5 separate regions of the Homo sapiens genome follow, and regions 2, 3, 4 and 5 are each linked to region 1. The links are contacts of gene promoters, found by promoter capture Hi-C in blood cells and fetal thymus (Javierre and others, 2016). All regions are on one chromosome and are shown on one strand. Each heading gives the region's core, a stretch centred on a gene start or on the middle of the fragment in contact. The rest is flanking DNA. Distances are from core to core; before and after follow the strand shown.

The links. The method cuts DNA at HindIII sites, captures the fragments that hold promoters and counts their contacts. A CHiCAGO score of 5 or more calls a contact.
Region 2: a fragment that was not itself captured here is called in contact with the fragment with the promoter of TAS2R10 in region 1 in 2 of 17 cell types (M2 macrophages and M1 macrophages); the score reaches 6.7 in M2 macrophages.
Region 3: the fragment with the promoter of PRB4 here is called in contact with the fragment with the promoter of TAS2R10 in region 1 in 12 of 17 cell types (total CD4 T cells, M1 macrophages, naive CD4 T cells and 9 more); the score reaches 13.1 in total CD4 T cells.
Region 4: a contact is called between a fragment that was not itself captured here and the fragment with the promoter of TAS2R10 in region 1, in 1 of 17 cell types (M2 macrophages). The highest score is 5.3, in M2 macrophages.
Region 5: a contact is called between a fragment that was not itself captured here and the fragment with the promoter of TAS2R10 in region 1, in 7 of 17 cell types (M1 macrophages, M2 macrophages, erythroblasts and 4 more). The highest score is 6.7, in M1 macrophages.

The regions. Positions count from the first base shown.
Region 1 is chr12:10,825,090-10,827,789 of GRCh38, forward strand. TAS2R10 (taste 2 receptor member 10) reads right to left here and starts at 1,269. Exons shown (of 1, transcript NM_023921.2): 1 at 130-1,269. The coding sequence starts at 1,180. The coding sequence ends at 257. The HindIII fragment of the contact is 6,023 bases long and covers 1-2,219 here.
Region 2 is chr12:11,173,653-11,176,352 of GRCh38, forward strand. SMIM10L1 (small integral membrane protein 10 like 1) reads left to right here. Exons shown (of 1, transcript NM_001271592.2): 1 at 1-2,364. Among named protein-coding and RNA genes, the nearest start is that of PRH1-PRR4, 3.4 kb to the left of the region's middle. The HindIII fragment of the contact is 3,407 bases long and covers 1-2,700 here.
Region 3 is chr12:11,309,099-11,311,798 of GRCh38, forward strand. It overlaps PRB4 (proline rich protein BstNI subfamily 4), which reads right to left and starts at 1,338. Exons shown (of 4, transcript NM_002723.6): 1 at 1,237-1,338; 2 at 272-307. The coding sequence starts at 1,300. The HindIII fragment of the contact is 5,809 bases long and covers 1-1,924 here.
Region 4 is chr12:11,196,717-11,199,416 of GRCh38, forward strand. All of the region lies in intron 1 of LOC107987435 (a long non-coding RNA gene), which reads left to right. It also overlaps the pseudogene LOC100420583. Among named protein-coding and RNA genes, the nearest start is that of TAS2R42, 11 kb to the left of the region's middle. The HindIII fragment of the contact is 2,414 bases long and covers 130-2,543 here.
Region 5 is chr12:11,215,316-11,218,015 of GRCh38, forward strand. The region is part of intron 1 of LOC107987435 (a long non-coding RNA gene); the gene reads left to right. Among named protein-coding and RNA genes, the nearest start is that of TAS2R42, 30 kb to the left of the region's middle. The HindIII fragment of the contact is 1,882 bases long and covers 382-2,263 here.

The DNA of each region.
Region 1 (2,700 bases), core at 19-2,518:
GTCTTCCTCTAGGAAGTTTGTAGGAAGAAGTTGCAGGGTGGGGAAGCTGACTAAGCCACTGAATTTGCATGTGAGATTAAAATCTCCTCAAAGACTGAGATTCCCTGAAACATAGTCAAAACAATTATGGAAGATTTCAGTGATCTTTAATGACACAGTTAAAAAGACAATGCAAGAATGCAGTGCAATGAAACAGATCTTCAAGGATTTATTCACTGGATTCCTTTCGTGGAACATCCATCTCTTCCCAAGGTGTCTATGTGACTCTGAGATTTTTCCTTTTCTCACAGCACTTCAATTGCTGCAGTACCCTCAAAGAGGCTTGCTTTAGCTTGCTGTTTCCTAGAATTAAGATAAATGAGTGACCCCAGGGATAGATGGCTGTGGTTGTCATTCCAAACATAAGCAGCAGTTTGTTTTCTCGCACAGTAAAACATGATATTTCTATGGCCATGCCTATAAAATACAAGATAAAGAGGATGATGAAAGATATCAAAACTTTCATTGCCTTCACATGAGCTTCTGTGTTGGAGTCTCTCAATCCTGTCACATTCGATTGCATCTGCCTGTTGTGTCTCCAAAGGGAAATGATTAAAAAAATACATGTAATTAGGGATAGTGTAAAGAAGAAAATGACTCCCAGATTTAGCAAAATCTGTTTAATAAAGTATTCACTTTTATACATGTTGAGATCCCAGACTGTGTCATTCTTCGTTTTATAATCATTAAGAATCTTCGCAATGTATGCAAAATTAAGTAACGATGAAATAAGTAAGAATACTATCATGAAGGGAAGAACCATATTTGTTCTGCTCTTCAACCAGAGAAATATGTAGTTGGAAAAATTTGCTATCTTCAGGAAATAGAAGATGCTGAGGCTGGTGGCAAACCACATACTTGATTGATTACCAATTACCCAAAAGTAACTAATATATTCAATTAGGTTACCGGAGGCATATATATTTGGAGAGAATATCTGTATAAATCCATCTGTAATTATTATCCATATCAGAAAAATTCTTGAAATAGCTAAGCCGGTGAGAATAAAGCCAATCGTAGATAACTTATTCTTGGCACAGTCAATGCAGTTTACAAGTCCAATAAATCCATTCCCCAAAACCCCAAACACTGACTCACTAACTACAACAAAAATGAAGATGCCTTCCACTACACGTAGCATATCTGCTAATTCTTAATATTGCTTCTGTTACATCTATCTTAGATTACCTGCTGCAGAATGAGGCATATATTGGCTGCTCGACGGAAGTGTGACTTTCTTCTCTTTCATTATATAAAGACTTGAAATTGCCCCAGTAATGGCTTGAGATGGAATCAGAAATTTCTTAATGAAGACCTTTCCAAATATGTCTACAAAACATAGCTAGTCTGGAGAATGTATGTTCAGACTGAATGCCTATCTATAATTTGTTAAAATGCAAATGAAAGTTTCTGTTTCATGGATTTTACATGTCCTCCTGAGACTATTTTGCATTTAATAAATTGAATTGTGGAGGAGGAGTGCCAAACATATACCTATAGAATGTAATGCAAAACAGAAACAAAAATTTTGACTTTATCTTTTAAAATATCAAATCATTATTTATGTCATTTATAATCAATTTATATATGTACAGAAAATACTATATAGAAATGAAAAACAAATTTAGCCACTGTAGATACTTACTCTAAATGATCGATTTAATTTTTAATTAAAATTTAAGCTCAACTCTAGGTATGACAAGTTTCACAAATATGTCACAAATCTGTTGCTGTTGTTTTATACTTATGGTTATTACACCCTTGAATGCAGAAGATTATGTTGACTACCCTTGACATGAAAGGCTCTTAGGAATAATCTCTTCATTTAACACATTACTGTTTGCTGGCACCCATTCATTTATCCAACAAGTATTTACTGAATGTCTAGATACAACAAGCTCTCTTTTGATCTTTGAGGGAATATAGTGGTAGACAGAATTTCAAAACTTGTGTGATTTATGGAGTGTATATTCTAATGAGGGAGGTGGGAAACAATTAAGTAAATCAACATACTGATCTAAGAATTAAAAGTGAAATTAAAAGTGAAATCTAACATTTATTGAGCTTTTATTATATTCCTAGCGCTATGTTAAGTATCTTTTTCTCATCTTAATTTCACAAGCCTTCAATCCTTTAAAAGAGGGGCTATTTTTGTATTTACATTAAATATGAATAAACTAAGCTTTGGAGAAAAGAAGACCTTCTCTCACTTATCCTGGCATGACTACCATAAATAAAATTGCACAATGATTTCAAAATGAAGTTAAATTAAGCTTAGGAATAGACTACAAATGATAGCAAAACAAAACAAACCAACCAAAAGCAAGTAGAAAACTTAAATTCTCATGGGCTGCACATACTGAAATTGACAGATAAGAATATGTATAGATAAATTAGCTAATGTATACACTGTTTACAAAAAACAAGATGCAATTTCAGAGAAGAGCAGCAAGAGACTGTTAGAAAGAAATTGGAACATTTGGGGAAAAAACTTCTAGAAATGGAGAATATAATTATATAAAATGTAAATGAACTAAATACTCCAAGTAAAAAATTAATAGTAACAAAGAAGAATTTAAAACTCTGACTGTATACTGCTTACAAGAAACACAATTTAAATATAGAAAAGGAAAACTTTAAAGTAAAATTATGGAAAAATAA
Region 2 (2,700 bases), core at 147-2,646, 350 kb after region 1:
TTAATCCTGAAATGGTGACAGAGTAGGATGCTCCATTTGGGTGACTATGTGAACATATTCCTATAACTTTTTTCCTCACATCAGTCATTTGTTAAACCGAAGATGAAGAAACAGACTTTGTATTTATTACATCCTCCAACATAATTGGCAGCTCTGTGAGGGAAGACACTATATCCTATTCAATTTTACACCCGGTAGTAACAGTATGTGTGTGTACTGTATATATACATATATATATACATACACATATATAAATTTAAGTAGTAACTATATATGTATATATGTATAGTTACTACTTACTATATATGTATACAGTATATAAGTATATATGTATAGTTACTACTTACAATATATGCATAAAGTTACAGCTTACATTTACCTCGTAATATATGTATATATATATATTAGGAGTTAAATGTATTAGGAGGTAAATGTAAACTCTGTGGTTTATCATTTATTCACAATTGCTCTTAATTCTTGGGGTATAGTTTGCCTCCTACATGATGCAATTCAGTGAAATTCCCAGGAGACAAAACAAGATTTTGACCTGAATAAACCACTTATTGTTGTAATTCACAAGTGAGTTTATTCTTCCTGGCACACTTCCAGGTAATATCCATTAGGCTAAGGATTTTGTTTGTTCACTGTTCTATCCCCAAGCCTAGAGCACTGCCCAGTGCGGAATAGCTAATAAATATTGTTGAATGGATAGATGAATGGCAATTTTGTTGGTATGCTCTACATAGTCAGCAGTCAATAAAGGAAACATATATTCGTTCCTGATAATAAGATGATTCACTTTATTGCCCATAAATTGGGCTTTTTCAGGCCATCATGCACGTTGATTGATCCAGAGATCCCTCAAGCATGAAAAAGCAGAGACATAGGTGGTATAGTTATTATCAATAGAGATAAGAAATGTAGCTGGCAAAAAAAAAAATGGGAAACGATGCGTTACAGCTTATTTTAACTATAAAAGGAAAACAGTGAACATAGCAACATATGTAACCTAAGGGATAGGGGAAAAGTTGTTTTTTTTTTTTTAATTCTGGGTAAAAATACATGTGATTACTTGACAAATAGCATATCATTACCATCAGCATCATTTTTAAAATATATTGAGTTTTTAATACCAGGAACTATGAAAAACTATTTATATACATGAGCTCCGTAATTCTCACATATACCCTGTGAGGAAAACATTTTTATCATTTTTCAGAGAAGCAAACCGGGATTTAGAGAGGTTAAGTAAATTCCTAAGGTCATGATAACCAACCAGACCTCAAATGAATCTCCAGTAATTCCTAAAGTTATATTTCATAAGGAGTTCAATTTTCTTAAATGTGTAGATAATTACAAATAATTCTGTTTCTCAAATTTCTGGACAGAAATATTACCTGGGTAATAGTTATTTTTTTTAACATAACTATTGAGGGTCTTTCATACTAAAATATAAATATTTAACATGATTTGATATGTAAGTTCAAGTATTTTATACTCTCTGCAGCCTTAAACCTATTGGCTTATTTTATTAGAGGGTTGGTGGGATTGAGGGATATGGGAGCAAAGGGAGAGAGAGGAAAGAACGTTGTCCTCAGAATGGAAGGGAAACACTTTCCTGTGCTACCCAGAGTAGAGATCAGACAATGTTAAATTTTGAAGCCATGTCTGTTCCTGTCCTGAGGATCCCTAACTAAATTTTGTTAGAAAATCTTGCAGTTTGCTTTTAATGGGAGATCTTTCTGGCAGGACATCAATAGCTTTTGATAGCGTCAAGAAGAAAATAAAGTTACATGCAGAAGCATAAAGGGGTAGGATGAAAGTTGAGGAATATAGGGACAAAAGATGAGGGAAAGGAATATCCTAATACTTGGAAGTTTGAGCATGGAAAGTAGTCTAAAGACGACTTGGGAAGTTCCAAGAAAATGAACCAAGAAAAGAACCTCTGCAAGAACTATGAGAATTCCCAACAATTGGGTTGGATTGATTCATATTAGTCTATTACTTGGGTTACCTTGAGTGTGGGGATTCTTCTTGCAGTTTTAACACTTGTACTATGGTCTGAATGTGCCCCCCAAAAATTCACATGTTGGCATTTAACCCCCAAAGTGATGATCTCAGGAGATGGGACCTTTGGGAGGTGATCAGGTCATAAAGATGAAACCCTCGTGAATGGGATTAGTGCCTTTATAAAGGAGACCCCAAAATAATTCCCTTACCCCTTTTGCCATGTAAGGTTATAGGGAAAAGTCATCTATGAACAAGGAAATGAACCCTCACCAGATACCAAATTTGTGAATGCCTGGATCTTGGACTTCCCAGCTTCTAGAACTATAAGAAATAAATTTCTGTTGTTCATAAGCACCCATTTTATGGTATTTTTTATAGCAGCCTGAACAAACTAGACTTAATAGGATTTGCTCAGCAGGATTACCACCAGGTCAAGTCATGAGATCTTTTCAAAATATAAGTAAACCTCCCCTTACCCCTACTCTCCACAAATACAAATTTCAGCAGTGCTCTTGGGACAACTAAAAGGCCCAAGGACCTTCCCAAAAGCCTACTACAAATGAAGAAACTATGGAAGTCTTAGTAGCTTAATTGCAGGACATCCCTGCCAGTTTCTATCCTGATTAGGGATCTGCAATGAACATTACAAAATCTTCACCATCTCCATGGCTTTCAACACCAAGCATATGG
Region 3 (2,700 bases), core at 88-2,587, 480 kb after region 1:
ATTTGTCTGTCATCTCCCAGGAGGCACTCCTGGCCAGGGGGATGTCAACCCACTCCTGTTGTCATCTAAGCCAAGCATCTCTGACATTCCATTTGGTGGCCTGCTCATGGTCCCCAGAATCAAGTTTGCATGAAGATTGCCTATATCATTAGGGGCAATAACATTAATCAATTCCTGAAAGGAAAGTGTTGATAAGAAGACACTGGAGAAATGATCCATTTGTAAGCAGAAAAAGGGAGTCAAAACAGATTGAGAATGAATTGGGATTTACCTGATATTAGGAAGAGAGATTCTTCCTGGCTGACATCTAGAAGAGAAGCACAGGATGATGGGAAATGTTACATCTCAAATCTTCAAGACTCACAAGTGTTCTACAGGGAAAATTGTCTTCTCACCACACCCCATGCATCCCCTAGGTTAACTCATCAGCCACCATCTGTGAAGGTGCTGGAAGGGGTGGAAGGTGTAAGAGGAGGCAGGGTTGTTACCACACAGAGCAACAGCAATGAGTTCAACATAGAACAGCCCCTTTTTTTCCTCCCTAGCATCCCTCAAGACTTAATGCTTATTTAGTTTATGCATGCCAGGTACTTCAATGTGATATTTTGGTGTTCTTATGCCCTCCATCTCCTGTTAATATATTGCATACATACACATGTTTTCTCAATAGGGGTAACCAGAAGTAATCATTTCAATACAATCTAACCCATTCCACTCCCAGCACATTGAAATACTGCATGTAGGGGAGAGAAAAATTGTAATGATTGGCTCTGATATTTCTACATCTTTAGTTAGACAGAGACAAGTGTTCTATCCAGTTCTGTCTCTGCAGTATCTCTGATGTGTATGTATCTCTATCATCAATGCCGACTGTCTGTACAGCAAGGCCACCATCATCCCTGTGTACTTACTGGGATCAGTATAGGATCTTCACAGCTGGACTTCCCTGAATCTGCCTTGCACTCTCCACTGCAGCCTTCACAGCACAGTTCTATCTCTATAAATTCAAATCTTACCTTCTCATTCCCCTGGAACAAATTCGTTATTGGATTTCATTGTACATTAAATAAATTAGAAGTCCTTATTGTGGAATGAGGGCACAACAGGTCTCCTGATCCTAGGCATGAAAACTCTGCAGCCCCATCTGTGTTTTCATTCTCCTCTCTTCCCCATAATTACCACTGTCACCTCCTAAGTCCCAAGCAGTCACCGCATCTTTTCCCCCTTCTGTTTTACCTTCACTTGAACTCTCAGCTGAGCTCAGGGCCAGCAGGGCCACTGACAGCAGAATCAGCAGCATCTCGCTGGAGGCTCTGGAGTCACTCCCAACTCTGTGCTGGGAGGAACGTGGCAACTCCCTTTATAAAGAGGAGCAAAACAATGGCACCTTTGAGCCCTGGGTGGGCCTCACCACCTCAGAGACTGGGTTCTGCTTTCCTTACTGCAGGTCAGGTGTATCCCTTATTTCTCTTTGGGACTCTAGCCCAGAGGGATGGGGTGGGTTGGATGTTGTTTGTGCCTTATTTCTAAAAGGTACGACTATGACTTGAATAAAGGTTCTAAAGGAACTGTGTCCAAGCTATCAGCACTGTGTCATAATTGAACTTCAGACATCATTAGAGTTTCAATCCTTTTGGTAAGACTATGTCTGCTTTCCACTCTACTATTTATTTCTGTGTAATATTTGTGGGGGCAGTGAAGCTACAGCCAGCAGTGAAGATGGTCAATTTCTCTGGCTCTTTATAGAGCCTATTTCCATCTCTTGTGATGTGTGTGTACAGATAGTATCACAATTGGCTAAAGTTTTGATGCGATAGAGATGGTTTCTGTTACCTGTGTGATGGTGTGAAGACAACACACTCCTGGGCACACATAGATGACAGAAAGCTGCCCCACAGCCTGCTCGGGCTACAACTATTGTTCAAGCTTCTGTGGATCTGACTCAGCTCAGGCAAGGCTTGTTGTTGTGCCACACAGGAAGGCCAAAATTGTGTATTTTAAAGTACCTTTAGGGGTTATTAATGCAAAATGTACACAGAAACCATAAGGAAATTTCTAGATCTGAGAAAACTGAATACATAATTCCTTGCGGGAGCCATGCGATATCATGTTGCCAAAACTTCCTTCATGCTCTTCCCTTTGTCCAGAATATTCTATAATATTCACCCTCTGCTTCATTTCTTTTAATAATTGTATTGAATTCCTACCACTTATAATTAAGTGGCTACAATTCTACATTCAAATAGGATAATCAGATACCCTCGTTAAAGCCTAAATTGCATTATATTGGTATTCTTGGTTTAGTCAGTATTTGTGTTACCTGTTTTCTCAGATTGTTCTTCCACAAAGAGTATTTTTCTATAATATTCTGATATGCATTCCTCCCCACCTTCTTTCTGGTTCTTCTTTGTTCATATTTTATTTTCTGAGTCAAGCCCATTATGTGTATTTTTCTTTATGTATCTGGCTTTTTTCCCCATGAATTTGGTGAGATTTCCTTTATTTAATCTTCTAAGTATTAGGATATAGTACTTACCATCTTTGTTTCATTCTTGTCTGTGTAATTTCATAATACGTGTTGTGTTTCCAAAAAGCCCTATCAGAGACCTGCATTGTTAGCACTTCTTTCAGCTACTGATTCTTCGTTATATCTGATAAATACCTGCTTATCAGTTCATGGAATATACAGGTTACTCAGTA
Region 4 (2,700 bases), core at 87-2,586, 370 kb after region 1:
AACTAATCTGAGAATGTCAAATATTGTTATAATTTTAATTAGGTTATGATTAACGGCATCTATATTTGGATAGTCATTATAAGTACATCTAATAGCAACACCCGAGCAAAAGTGTTCTGCATATGGCCAAGCTTGAGAGGATGAAATCCATCAAACAAATCTGGTTCTCAGCCCAGTCAATTAAGTTTGCCAATTAAATCCATCCAGTCCATGAATATTTTTTTTCTTTATTTGAGACAGAGTCTCACTCTATCACCTAGTCTGGAGTGCAGTGGCACAATCTCAGCTCACAGCAACCTCTGCCTCCTGGGTTCAAACGATTCTCCTGCCTCAGCGTCCCAAATAGCAGGGATTACAGGCCTGCGCCACCATGCCCACTAATTTTTGTATTCTTAGTAGAGACGGGTTTTCACCATGTTGGCGAAAACTCCTGACCTCAAGTGTTCCTCCCACCTCAGCCTCCCAAAGTGCTGGGATTACAGGCATGAGCCACTGCACCCGGCCAGTCCCTGAAATTCTTATTGTGAATTCCACCATGGTTACAGTCGTAGAGATACTTTACACTGCCTTTGTCATAGCTCCAGAAAGAACGCCCCACTTGAATTTGCAATGTAAGTTCTGAATAATCAAACATCGATTCACCAATCGTTTATTGTAGTTAATACATACATCTGTTATTTGGTATTCATAAATGTCTCCTACCCATCACTCTTATCTCTGAATCCTCAATCAGGAAGTACTCCTGTCCCTAAAATTCGACATAGTTTTCAACCCAAGTTCTACATATGATCTTCCAATATGCCCTTAGATTGTGATTTCCACATTAGATTGTGACTAAAATATGTTTCTCTTTACTAAAGATGCAAATTGAAGACAAGTAGTTTTCTAAATTTTGCATGCCCCATCTCCAAATGATGTAGATGTCTCAAGATGATTTACTGAGTCTTTAGCAGTAGTCTAATACAAAGACTATGCATCGAACTTCTAATGTTAGAAATATAAATGAATAAACTGAATAATTTTTATCACCATCAGTAAGGAATATGCAACAGACTAAGAGTCCTTTGGAAATGATTTATGAATTGGAGCAGTGTAATATTTATTATGTAGTGAGTTATGCAGATAAATATTTTTCAATGTTTACCTGGGTTCAAGAAAAAAGACATCAATTTTTAAATATAGACTGAACCCCTGCCATACCATGTGCTGTATTAGGCACAGTTTAAAGTCTCATATAAAGAGGATCATATCCGATAATAGCTGTAGGCAAACTTAGGTGGCAAAAGATGTCTTCTATGCCCTGTACATGTTGCATAACAAAAGAGAAGGAGATAGGAACCGTCTTCTCTCAATAAGAGAAGTATTCTATCACTGACTTGCAAATCTGTCATAATAATAAAAAGTAGACTAACTTTTCATTGATTGCATTACAGTTTTAAGTCCTTTATAAGCAATATGCTTCTTTATCATTTGTGCTTGAGACAAACAGCTTTTATCTCTATTCACCCTAATATCTGATGCCCCATTTACCTTATACCTGCCATATTATTAAAATTTTGTTTCTACCTTTCATTCTACATTAAGGCCACAGCAGTATATAGAGTAGTCATTAGGATTGTTGCTGTAAGATAATTGCATGATCTAAGCTAATTTCAGATACATTACATCTCTCACAGTAATAAAAATACAAACAAGAGTTGACGTTTATTGAACTCTGTGAGCAAAACACTGTTCAATCACTCTACATGTCTTATTTCATTTAATCCTCACAATAGTCCTAGTAATAGGTATCATCATTGTCTCCATCTTACACATAAGGGAACTGAGATACAGAGTTTCAGGAAATGGATATATATGCATGGAATTCCAGGAAATCTTTAAAGGTATCTCTTAAAATTACCATAATGATAAAACAAATATGTAATACTATATTAACTTTGGAAATTAAACATAACAGTTAATCATATAATGGGAAAGGAAATAATTTTTGCCAACCAAGCCAATCCAACAAGATCAAGAAAACTAGTGTTACTAAGTGCAGTTGCTCATGCCTGTGATCCCAGTGCTTTGGGAGGCCAAGGCAGGAGGACTGCTTGGAGCCAGGAGTCCAAGACCAGCCTGGCCAACACAGTGAGAACCCATCTATAACAAATTTTAAAAATTAGCCAGACATGGTGGCATGCTGTATTCATCCACTCTCACACTGCTATAAAGAAATTCCTGAGACTGAATAATTTATAAAGAAAAGAGGTTAAATTGCCTTATGGTTCCTCAGACTGTACAGGAAGCATGGCTGGGGAGGCCTCAGGAAACTTACAGTCATGGCAGAAGGCAAAGGGGCAGCAGGCACATCTTACATATCCAGAGCAGGAGGAAGAGAAAGAAGGGGAAGATGCCACACACTTTTAAACAACCAGATCTCATGAGAACTCTATCACAAGAACAGCACCAAAAGGAGAAATCTGCCCCCATCATCACTGCCATCACCAGCTGGGATAGTGGCGGCCCAAGCCACCATCATGTCTCACCTAGATTATTGTAGAAGCTTCCCTACTGGCCTCCTGCTGCTGAGCTAGCCCCTACAGAGTGGTCCCATTCATATGCAGGTCATATCATGTCAGCACCCTGCCCAAAACCCTCCAAGTGGTTCCTTGTATCACTCAGAGTGAAATCCAAAGCTCTCATTGCTGTTTGCAAGAT
Region 5 (2,700 bases), core at 73-2,572, 390 kb after region 1:
AAATTATCAGACACATCTTCACAAAGAGACATGCTGCAAAATACCTGACCAGTATTCTTTAAATCATCAAGGTCATCAAAAGCAAGGAAAGTCTGAGAAACTGTCACAGCCAAGAGGAACCTAAGGAGACCCAACATCTAAATAAAATAAATAAATCCCCGTCCAGGATGGGGTCCTGGGACAGAAAAATACATGAGGCACGACTAAAGGAACCTGAATAAGATATGAACTTTAATTAATAATAATGTGACAATTGGTTCATTAATTGTAACAAATATACCATGGTATTGTAGGATAGGAGAAACTGAGTGCAAGACACATGGGAACTCCATGTGCTAGCTCCACAATTTTTCTATAAATTTAAAATTGTTCTAAAAATAAAGCTTGTTTAAGAAAATAAAAACAGGGGGATGGCAGCTAGATGCTAGGCTACAGACTATCAATGCATAAGATTTTAATCCCTAAATCATTAGTCCCTGCATCGTTAGGACTTAACCTGCATCAGTTTCCAGGGCGAAGGAAACTCGATGAAAGGAAACTTCTTACATTCATATGCCTTGTCACACTGTGAGTCACACTCACCAAATGGTCTCTCCAATTTACTGATTATATTAATACTCCTAAATTACTCATCTATACCTTCACCCACTTAAAATAATTGGGTTTTTTATTAAATACAGTATGTATGTTATTTTCTTGGGCTGAAACAACTCAATTAAATTACCACTAACTCAAAAGGAAATCAGAAATATAAAAAGTTTCATTCTCGGAATACTGTCTCTGGGAGAAAAAGGCGGGTTTTCGGTTTTTGCTTTATTTTAGTTTGTTTTTTGGTACTCTTCAATGTAACTATAAGAATGGAAGTCATGGGAGAATAAAGGGAAAACAAGAAGGCCTGGTTACTGTTGTGGAAGAAAGACTTTCTTAGGAGAAAGGTTGAGGAATTTACTAGAGAGCAATGTCAGGAAAAATGAGAATCTGGAGGCCGGGCTAGGCACACATCAAAGGAATCTGCATCTAATTACTCAGAAAGAAGAAACTGAAAAAGAGAGGTTTTTGTTTCTAGATTGGAAAGGGTGACTACTAACATCCAAAAAAGTAAACAAATAACAGAAAACTAACAGAAGAGACCCCTCCCCAGGAACTAGTTATATAAAGTGGGCACATATTTGAGAAGAGAAAACCAGGAAAATTAGCCGAAATAGTATTACGTGATTTTCAGATTCACATATATGTTGTAGGTAAAGATGCAGGTATTTCCAGTGTGAGAGAGAAACATAATCAAGATATTTGAAGAGTCAGCTCTCATAGAAAAGAAACAATGAAAATGAGATCTACTAAGGCTAGCAAGGGGCAGGAGTAATATATGAGGTCAAGGTTTAGGTCAGATGCTGTTCTGATAGAATAATTCCTAAGTGGCATTACCCACAGTGGGGAAAAGTTGGACAAAATATGTTTGAATAAAGCCTCTTTTATTAGAACTAGAATTTATCAACTTCCTATCTCTCACTGTGGAGAACTCCATAAACATATTTAAAGAAAGTATTTAAAAAAAACCACCTGAGAACGTGAAAGCAAATGGAATATTAAAGGAATTTGAAGGCATTATATTCCAACAAATAGTTACCCATAAGATGGTAGAAAAGGAAATAGATCACATTTAGAAATAGTTTGAGTTTATATATCACCTGACCATGCCTAAAATGAGTAGGCGAGTACAGCATGGAGACCATAATTTAAAATATTGTATTGAATACTTGAAATTGCCAAAAGGACAGATCTTGAGTGTTCTCACCACACATATACAAAAAAAAGGTCACTATGTGAAGCGATGGCTATGTTAACTAGCTAGATTATGGTGAGCATTTCACAATGTATACATAAATCAAAATAGGAAGTTGCACACCCTAAATATATACAATTTCTATTTATCACTTATACCCTAATAAAGCTGAAAATATTAAAATATTTTAAAAAATACATATAAAGTTGATTTTATTTAAGTACAAAAATAAAATGAAATGAGTGGGCATTCGTGAGGGGGCTTTAAACTGTAGAGGAATATCTCACCAGCAGGAGACAGGTTGGGGAGATGTCTTCAACCTAAATTTTACTCTCAAACTGGAACATTCAAAAGCAGAGGAAGACAGAGTTTTGAGGAGCCAATGGCAGAGATGTTGGCCTTGCTAGGCCCTTTGGGGTTATAGGATTCAGAAGCAGCAACAGAGTATACATTGGTTTTAGAGTGAGGGGGTTTATCACAAGCTTGAAATGTTTCTGTGTGGGGGAGAAGTTTATGTTGGGGTCAGACTGTCTCTGGGTGGAGGGGAGATTATCTCGGGTCTGGCATGCCTCTGGTAGGGGAGAGGTTTGGAATTTTTTTGGTCAGAGATATTATTTGTGGTTTATGGTCATGCTGACCTTAGCCAGAAGGCTGATGACCTTTGGATTTAGGCAGTTTTTGATCAAGGTGAACTTAAAATGACAGTGCTTGTCCAAGATGGCAATACTCCTGCTCTGTCACCAGCGATAACAGGTTTTTTAAAAATATTGCATTACAAACACATTTAAAGGAAATTTTACTATTAGGAAATATATTCACTTACAGGCAAACAGGATTTCTCTTCTTGCCTGAGAATACATGCTCCAGCTATCAATACCATTTAGTGTGGACACCCCTCATCAACACTAAGTTTTACC